Regions from separate parts of the Homo sapiens genome. Here regions 2 and 3 are each linked to region 1. The links are contacts of gene promoters, found by promoter capture Hi-C in human tissues and cell types (Jung and others, 2019). All regions are on one chromosome and are shown on one strand. The core of a region is centred on a gene start or on the middle of the fragment in contact, and the rest is flanking DNA. Distances in the headings are between cores, read along the strand shown. Region 1 holds the start of IGF1 (insulin like growth factor 1). Region 2 overlaps LINC02456 (long intergenic non-protein coding RNA 2456). Region 3 has its middle 110 kb from the start of LINC00485.

Evidence for each region. The method cuts DNA at HindIII sites, captures the fragments that hold promoters and counts their contacts. A contact is called where the count stands out against the background at its distance.
Region 2: a fragment that was not itself captured here is called in contact with the fragment with the promoter of IGF1 in region 1 in 1 of the 25 tissues and cell types used here (liver).
Region 3: a contact is called between a fragment that was not itself captured here and the fragment with the promoter of IGF1 in region 1, in 1 of the 25 tissues and cell types used here (H1 embryonic stem cells).

What each region holds. Positions count from the first base shown.
Region 1 is chr12:102,479,287-102,481,986 of GRCh38, reverse strand. IGF1 (insulin like growth factor 1) reads left to right here and starts at 1,424. Exons shown (of 4, transcript NM_000618.5): 1 at 1,424-1,668. The coding sequence starts at 1,606. LINC02456 (long intergenic non-protein coding RNA 2456) reads right to left here. Exons shown (of 13, transcript XR_007063427.1): 11 at 1-2,700. RefSeq lists an enhancer at 2,569-2,618. The HindIII fragment of the contact is 12,796 bases long and covers 1-2,700 here.
Region 2 is chr12:102,322,287-102,324,986 of GRCh38, reverse strand. The region is part of intron 5 of LINC02456 (long intergenic non-protein coding RNA 2456); the gene reads right to left. Among named protein-coding and RNA genes, the nearest start is that of LINC02456, 44 kb to the right of the region's middle. RefSeq lists an enhancer at 2,029-2,700. The HindIII fragment of the contact is 4,745 bases long and covers 1-2,700 here.
Region 3 is chr12:102,716,305-102,719,004 of GRCh38, reverse strand. No RefSeq gene overlaps it. Among named protein-coding and RNA genes, the nearest start is that of LINC00485, 110 kb to the left of the region's middle. The HindIII fragment of the contact is 4,641 bases long and covers 1-2,700 here.

The sequences.
Region 1 (2,700 bases), core at 175-2,674:
TGCTACAATGTATTAACCACACAGAAGACTCAAACAAACCCAACCCCCTTCCAAACAAAGCAGGTTTGTTTGTTTTTTGTTAGGGCACCCACTTCTACAAACAAATTTCTGGCCCCAGGATAACACAAAGAGCCAGAGTAGGATTTCAAGCAGAACTGTGTTTTCAGTTGATGTGTCAGTCCCCTGAGAGTCATGTGGAAAAAAAAAAAAAGAAAAAATTCAAGGTCCAGGTTATTTCCACCACTCCTGGGAAACCAGGCCTGGAGAGCTCTCTAGGGAAAGAGGTATGTCTGCTCTGGGCTTTTGCAACCTTATTTTATAATTCACTTTCTTATCTACTGCTTCACAAAACCAAAGGGAAATAGGTACAAACTGTATCGACAAAAGATCAGAACTGAATTCTCAATGGCAAAGGCAAGTGTACATTATAAATAGCAAAACAGCTGGCTTGGACCATGTTGCCGGCCAGTCACCCAGTTGAGGGATTTGAATGACATCATAACCCTCGAGAGGGTATTGCTAGCCAGCTGGTGTTATTTAGAATACACAAAAATCAGAGAAAGAAAACACACTCTGGCACACAGACTCCCTCTGTCATACACACACACACACACACACACACACACACACACACACACAGGTTTGAGTTATATGGAAAATTCAAACAACAGGAAAATTGTTTGCCCCCCAGGTACCCTTCTCCCAGAGTGGTGGGGTGGGGAGGGGACAGTGACAGGCAGCCTAGTAGAAGAATAAAGAAAAATGTTCTATTTCAGTTGGGTTTTACAGCTCGGCATAGTCTTTGCCTCATCGCAGGAGAAAAAGTATGAGACAGTGCCCTAAAGGGACCAATCCAATGCTGCCTGCCCCTCCATAGGTTCTAGGAAATGAGATCACACCTCTCACTTGGCAACTGGGACAAGGGGTCACCCGAGTGCTGTCTTCCAATCTACTTTACCCCAGTCACTTCAGGGTTAAAATTGTAGAGTTTGCTGGAGAGGGTCTTATCGTCCTTTCTTTCTTTTTTTGTTTTAAATAATGCATTTGCTCTAGAATCTAAAATTGCTCTCCCATCCCCCATATTCCTTTAATACTGGTAAGGTGTATTAGCAGACGTTTGTGTCTTCATGCCCAGCAGAAAGTTAATCAGAAAACAGATCCTTATTTTCTATGGCAGCATAAGTATTTTAATGTCTGCGAACCCTGTCACTAACACACATTCTTTTAAGGGAAAAAAATGCTTCTGTGCTCTAGTTTTAAAATGCAAAGGTATGATGTTATTTGTCACCATGCCCAAAAAAGTCCTTACTCAATAACTTTGCCAGAAGAGGGAGAGAGAGAGAAGGCAAATGTTCCCCCAGCTGTTTCCTGTCTACAGTGTCTGTGTTTTGTAGATAAATGTGAGGATTTTCTCTAAATCCCTCTTCTGTTTGCTAAATCTCACTGTCACTGCTAAATTCAGAGCAGATAGAGCCTGCGCAATGGAATAAAGTCCTCAAAATTGAAATGTGACATTGCTCTCAACATCTCCCATCTCTCTGGATTTCTTTTTGCTTCATTATTCCTGCTAACCAATTCATTTTCAGACTTTGTACTTCAGAAGCAATGGGAAAAATCAGCAGTCTTCCAACCCAATTATTTAAGTGCTGCTTTTGTGATTTCTTGAAGGTAAATATTTCTTACTCTTTGAAGTCATTGGGGAATTCTATTTAAATTGTGTACTGTTTGCTTCTGCCTAGAACTGTTCTTCACTTTAAAATTTTCATTGTTTCGGAACCGAGAGTTATTTATAAATTGCTGAATATGCAATTCTGTGGAATCTGAAAAATAGCTCGGGGAGATGGATGCATTTGCACAGATATCTGTATGAGTAGAAACTATTGCAAGGTACTTATGCTAAATCCTCCACTTCTGCAGGGCTTCCGTGGTGTCATTACAGAAGATTCCTTTAAATCCTCTCTATGGCTAAGGGCTATAGAGCATGGATATGAACTTGGGGATTTTTTTTTTCTTTTGCAGGTGCAGATGTTTTATTTTTAAGACCATGTTCTTTTGCATGTGTGTATGTGTCTCTGTGTGTATGTGTCTCTGTGTGTGTAACTCATCAGGACTTTATTTACAAGGCATGCTATATATGAAGGGTTGTATTTTAGATGATATTAAAGCTTTTAAATATGATCTTTGGAGCTAAGGTCCCGGAACTCTGCACTTATGCCCAGAGAGAGTGTTAAAGTTAGAGTAAAGTGTAATTTGTTCTTCCAAAAAAGAACTCCTTGACAACTCTTGCTGACCTTGCATATTTGTATAATTTAAACAAATACATACTGTATATGGAAAGCAGAAACTTTCTAAGAGCTGCTTGCCCAACTTTTCTGTTTAGAAGAGGACTTTCATGGGCAAAGTTTGGACTTGGGGTTCTGTGTTATAAAACTCTGATTTTATATTCAGTGTCGTGAAGTCCCTTTAGGTAAATCTGGCTGCTGCTGTCAGTGCACCGACTTCTCGTTTCCGATTGCTGGCCGTAGTTCTAGTTTCCATTCTCAGCAAAATTATATCCTTCAAGACTTGTGTTTTTTTTTCAATTTGCAAGCGCTTTTAAGCTGCTGTCACTGGCTCCACCGATTCAATTGCCTGAGGGCTCAATTCATAAGACGTCTCTGCCACTTAGTGCAGCATTCAGTTGCTGCTTTCAAACACTTC
Region 2 (2,700 bases), core at 13-2,512, 160 kb after region 1:
ATGTACCCTAAAACTTAAAGTATAATAATAATAAAATAAAATAAAATAAAAAAACAAAAAAACAAAAAAAAAAGAATCAAAACTTAAAAAAAAAAAAAAAGGCTCTTACCAGATGCAGCTGCTGAACTCTGGACCTCTCATCTCCCATAACTGTAGGAAATAAATTCCTTTTCTTTATAAATTAGCCAGTTTCAAGTATTCTGTTATAGCAAGAGAAAACAAACTGAGACACCTTTCTTATTGCCAACTACTCCCTTTTAGCTTGTTATACTCTAGCCACCCTGAACTGGTTAGTGAGGAATTATTTAAAGCCCTCAAATGTGACATTGGTCTCCTTTGCATATACAGATGGCTTATGCCAAGAAAATTCTCCTAAACCAGAAGGTGAATAGAAACTAGTTTAGAGAAATGCAATAACAGTCAAATTTAAATTATCCTCAAGGGGGAGTAGCATAGGAGATGTCTTGATAGTATGACAGACAGCACTGGAATTAAATTGAATGCAATGAATTGAGTGAAGAGGGATGATAAAGTGTGAGGAACCCTGCTCAACACCTTCCTTTTAGTATCCTATCTCATTTAATCCATTTAATCATTTAATAATTTAATCTATGGCTGGTAGGTATGATTAACCTCGTTTTACAAATAAGGAAACTGGGACTCAAAAGGGCAAGTAAGGGACTGAAGCTTTACTGTATTTTAACTAAATGAACCTTTGAGTTAATAGGATTGGTGATGGGGATGGGAGGGTTTCTGCTCCAAACAAATTAATCTTCTCATTGCTTTCATCATCCTGCCCCACCCAAACATGTATTCTACTTTTTCATTTCTGTGCCTTTGCTTCTTTCCTCCCTGAAATGTCCTTCCCACTGCCGTCTCTGCTAATCTAAACCTCAGATCCCAGCTCCAATTCCATTTCTTCTGAGAAGGCTTATCAGATTGTTCTGTGCACAGAGAATATACCCTTGCTGAACTTCCATGGCCTTTTTTTCTATGTTTTGCTCACATGACACTTGTCATATTTTAGCTATTTGTCATATTTTAGCTATCTTTCCAAGTGTGTGTCTTTTCTTTCCAACTAGCTTATAAGCAGCCCAAGACCAGGTACAGTACTTGATCTTGATTTTAGCAGCCCCTGTGTTTCCCATCATTCTTTTTTTTTTCAGAGCAGGAGTGAAAGTTTATTTAAAAGCTTTAGAACAGTAAGGAAAGGAAGGAAAAGTAAAGTAAAGTACAACTTGCGGGAGGGCCAAGTGGGCAACTTGAGAAACCAAGTGCACTTCTTGAGAAACCAATTGGGCCTCATCATTATTTATTTTGTTTTATTTTTATTTTGAGACAGAATCTCACTCTGTCACCCAGGCGTGCAATGGCACAATCGCGGCTCACTGCAACCTCTGCTTCCTGGGTTCTAGTGATTCTCATGCCTGTCTCCCCAGTAGCTGGGACTACAGGCACCTGGCTAGTTTTTGTGTTTTTAGTAGAGACAGGGTTTCCATGTTACTCAAGGTGGTCTGGAACTCCTGGGCTCAGGTGATCCACCCACCTCAGCCTCCCAAAGTACTGGGATTACAGGCATGAGCCACATGCCCGGCACACCCCATCATTCTTAAAGATAATTCTGAGCACCCAGTATAATACCAACATATAATACACATTTAGGGAGAAAGGAGTGAACAGTTTTTAGAAGAAACATTTCAAAACATTTCAGAACACGTCTACTGAAGAAACATTTCAAAACATGTAGAAATGTTAGATGTTGTGGGAAGATCAATAAGTGTCTTGTACATGTATATGTCCTATGATTCTGTAGTATTGCTAGGTTCTCATTTGCCATAGAAAAAGTAAATCTATTTACTAAAATTATTAACTAAATAAAATTAAGAAATAACTAAATTCTTCTATAAGAGTTTTCAATAGCAACAGCTGAAACAAACACACAAAAAGGACAAATCACCATAACCTGAGTTAACTGGATTATCCTATTTTGTACATAAGCTTCCCTTACATGGCTTCATTTTTCCTTGAAAGAGAATGTACCTTTCTAAAAAGGTGTTGAGAGTCAAAGGGCATTCGCCTGGGACCCAACAAGCTACTTGGATGGCCCTGTTTTCCAACCACAAGCCATAGAAAGAGTGATAGAGTTGAGGAAGGTAGTCAGAAACAGTCAAAATCTCAACTGAGTGAGAAAAATAAACTTAAAGAAAACCCAGGCCAAACAAACAGCTTCACTGAATGACCCACTCCTTCAAGGGAATTGCCCATTCTTTAGAATCATAAATCCTTTTTCTTTCTTTCCTTTGTCATGTTACATGATTAAGTCTTCTAGTTAACAAGAAAAACATCCAACTTACTTATGTTCAATAAATTCCCATGAAAAGGACAAAAACTGGAAATGTTTTCAAGCTGAGAAGCATTAAAAAAAAAAATCAAAAGCATCCATCAAACCATTCTGAACCAAATTAAGGCATTTAGCACCATCTTGGCAACCTGAGCCATATGCCCTACCCTGTCCACCCAGCAAGGACCATCTAAGAAACCACAGGAAGCTCATCCCAGCCTCCTTCAGCAACATTCCTCAGTCTCAGATCAGGCCCAACCCAGCCTGGGATATCCCAGACACAGACCTCAGAATGTAACCTACATATGTTCTTCAGTATTAGGTTATTTCACTATCAAAGCCTCTTTTACGAAAAATTT
Region 3 (2,700 bases), core at 42-2,541, 240 kb before region 1:
TCCCATCCAGCAACTTCGAGTTAGAGATTATTGAGTCACACGTGCATTCCTAATCCAACCTCTGAAAGCTTCCAGGGAAAAGCAAATTGTGACTGAGGATGTGTCCAGGAACCCTACGGTGTCTGCCATGAATACTAATATGGTCAAAGCCTAGGTGGATGAATGTCCAAAGATGGCATAAGAAAAACAATCTTGTATCCTTCATTTTATAACAAGAAAAAAGACTAAGGACCATGTATGAAGAATAATGATTAAAATATGGATAATGCAACAATAGCTATCAGTAACTAATATTTGTGTGGGACTTACTATACTCCAGGTACTATTAAAAACACTTAGATAATAATCATTATATGAGAAATTTAAACTACAATAAGAAACAAAGAAGGTCATTATATAGTGATAAAGGGGTGTATTAGTCTGTTTTGCATTGCTAAAAAAGAATAACTGAGATTGGGTAAATTATAAAGAAAAGAGGTTTATTTGGCTCTACAGGCTGCCCAAGAAGCATGGCACCAGCAAAGAAGGCTTCTGTTGAGGGCCTCAAGAAATTTTAATCATGGCAGAAGGCAGAAGGGAGCAAGTGTGTCACATAGCAAGGGAGGGAGCAAGAGAGAAGGGGGAGGTGCCATGCTCTTTTTAACAACAAGCTCCTATATGAACTAATAGAGCAAGAACTCACTTATTACTACAAGGACAGCACCAAACCATTCATAAGGTATCCACCTCCATGTCCCAAACATCTCACTGGGCCCCGTCGCTAACATTGGAGATCAGTTTTGGACTATATCAAGGGGCTAATTTATCAAGAGGATATAATAATTGTAAATACATATGTACCCAACATAGGAGCACCTAAACATATAAAGCAAATATTAATAGACATGAAAGGAGAGCAGATTGTAATACAATAATAGTAGAAGACTTCAATACCTCACTTTCAGCAATTGGCAGATCATCCGGACAAAATATTAATAATGAAATATTGGACTTGAACTATATTTCAGACCAAATAAACCTTACAGTCAGATACATGACATTCCATTTAACAGAGACAGAATACACACTCTTCTCAAATGCACATGAAACATTCTCCAGGATAGATCATATATTAGTCCACAAAACAAGTCTTAACAAATTTAAGATGATTGAAATTATATTGAGTACCTTTTACGACCATAATGGTATGAAACTAGAAATCAAGAACAGGAGGAACTTCAGAAAATCTACAAATATATGGATATTAAACAGCATGCTCCTGAACAACCCATGAGTTGAAGAATAAATTAAAAGGGAAATTTGAAAAATATCCTGAGACAAATGAAAATGGAAACACAACATACCAAAACTTACGGGATGCAACATAAGCAGTTCTAAGAGCAAAGTTTATAGCAATAAATCCCCACATCAACACAAAAGAAAGTCCCCCCAAAAAACCTAATGGTATACCTCAAGAAACTAGAAAAAGAAGAACAAACTAAGCCTAAAGTAAGTAGAAAGAAGGAAATAATAAGATCAGAGTAGAAATAAATAATAGAGACTAGAAAAGCAATAGAAAAGATCAACAAGACTAAGAGTTGGTTTTCTGAAAGATAAACAAAATTGGTAAAACTTTAGCTAGATTAACAAAAATGAGAGAACTCAAATAAAATCAGAAATCAAAAAGGAGACATTACAATGGATATCACAGAAATGCAAAGGATCATGAGACTATCATGAATAATTATACATTGACAAATTGAATAACCTAGAGAAAAATGAATAAATTCCTGGATATACACAACCTACCAAAAATTAATAATGAAGAAATAGAAGAAAATCTGAACAGATCAATAATGAGTAAGAAGACTGAATCAGTAATAAGTTTTCCATCAAAGAAAAGCCTAGTACTTGATGGCTTCACTGTTGCATTCCACAAAACTTTTAGAGAAGAATGAATACCAATCCACCTCAAAATTCTTCCAAAAATTTGAAGAGGGAATATGTCCAACCTCATTTTACAAGGCCAACATTACCCTGATACTAAAACCAGATGAGGACACTACAAGAAAAAAAAAAATACAGGCCTATGTCCCTGATGAATATAGATAATAGTAAACTGAAATCCACAGCATATTAAAAGGACCATTCACCATAATCAAGTTGAATTTTTCCGAGGGGTGCAAGGATGATTCAACATACACAGACCTATAAATGTGATATACACCACATTAATAGAATAAAGGACAAAAACATATGATAATCTCAATAGATACAGGAAAAGCATTTGACAAAATTCAACATCTTTCATGATAAAAATTCTTACCAAATTAGGTATAGAAGTACAATAAAGGCAATACAACAAACTTGTAGCTAACATCATATTCAATGGTGAAAAGTTGAATACATTCAATGCAACCAAAATTCCAATGATGTTTTCATAGAAATAGAAAAACATTTCTAAAATTTGTCTGGAACCACAAAAGATCCCAAATAAACACGGCAACCTTGATAAACAAGAATAAAGCTGGAGGCATCACAGTACCTGACTTCAAAATATACTACAAAGCTATAGCAAGCAAAAGAGCATGGTACTGGTATAAAAGCAGATACATGGACCAATGGAGCAGAATAAAGGCCAGAAATAAACTCATGCATTTATAGTCAATTGGTTTTTGACAAAAGTGCCAAGAAAACACAAAGGGAAAAAGACAGCTTCTT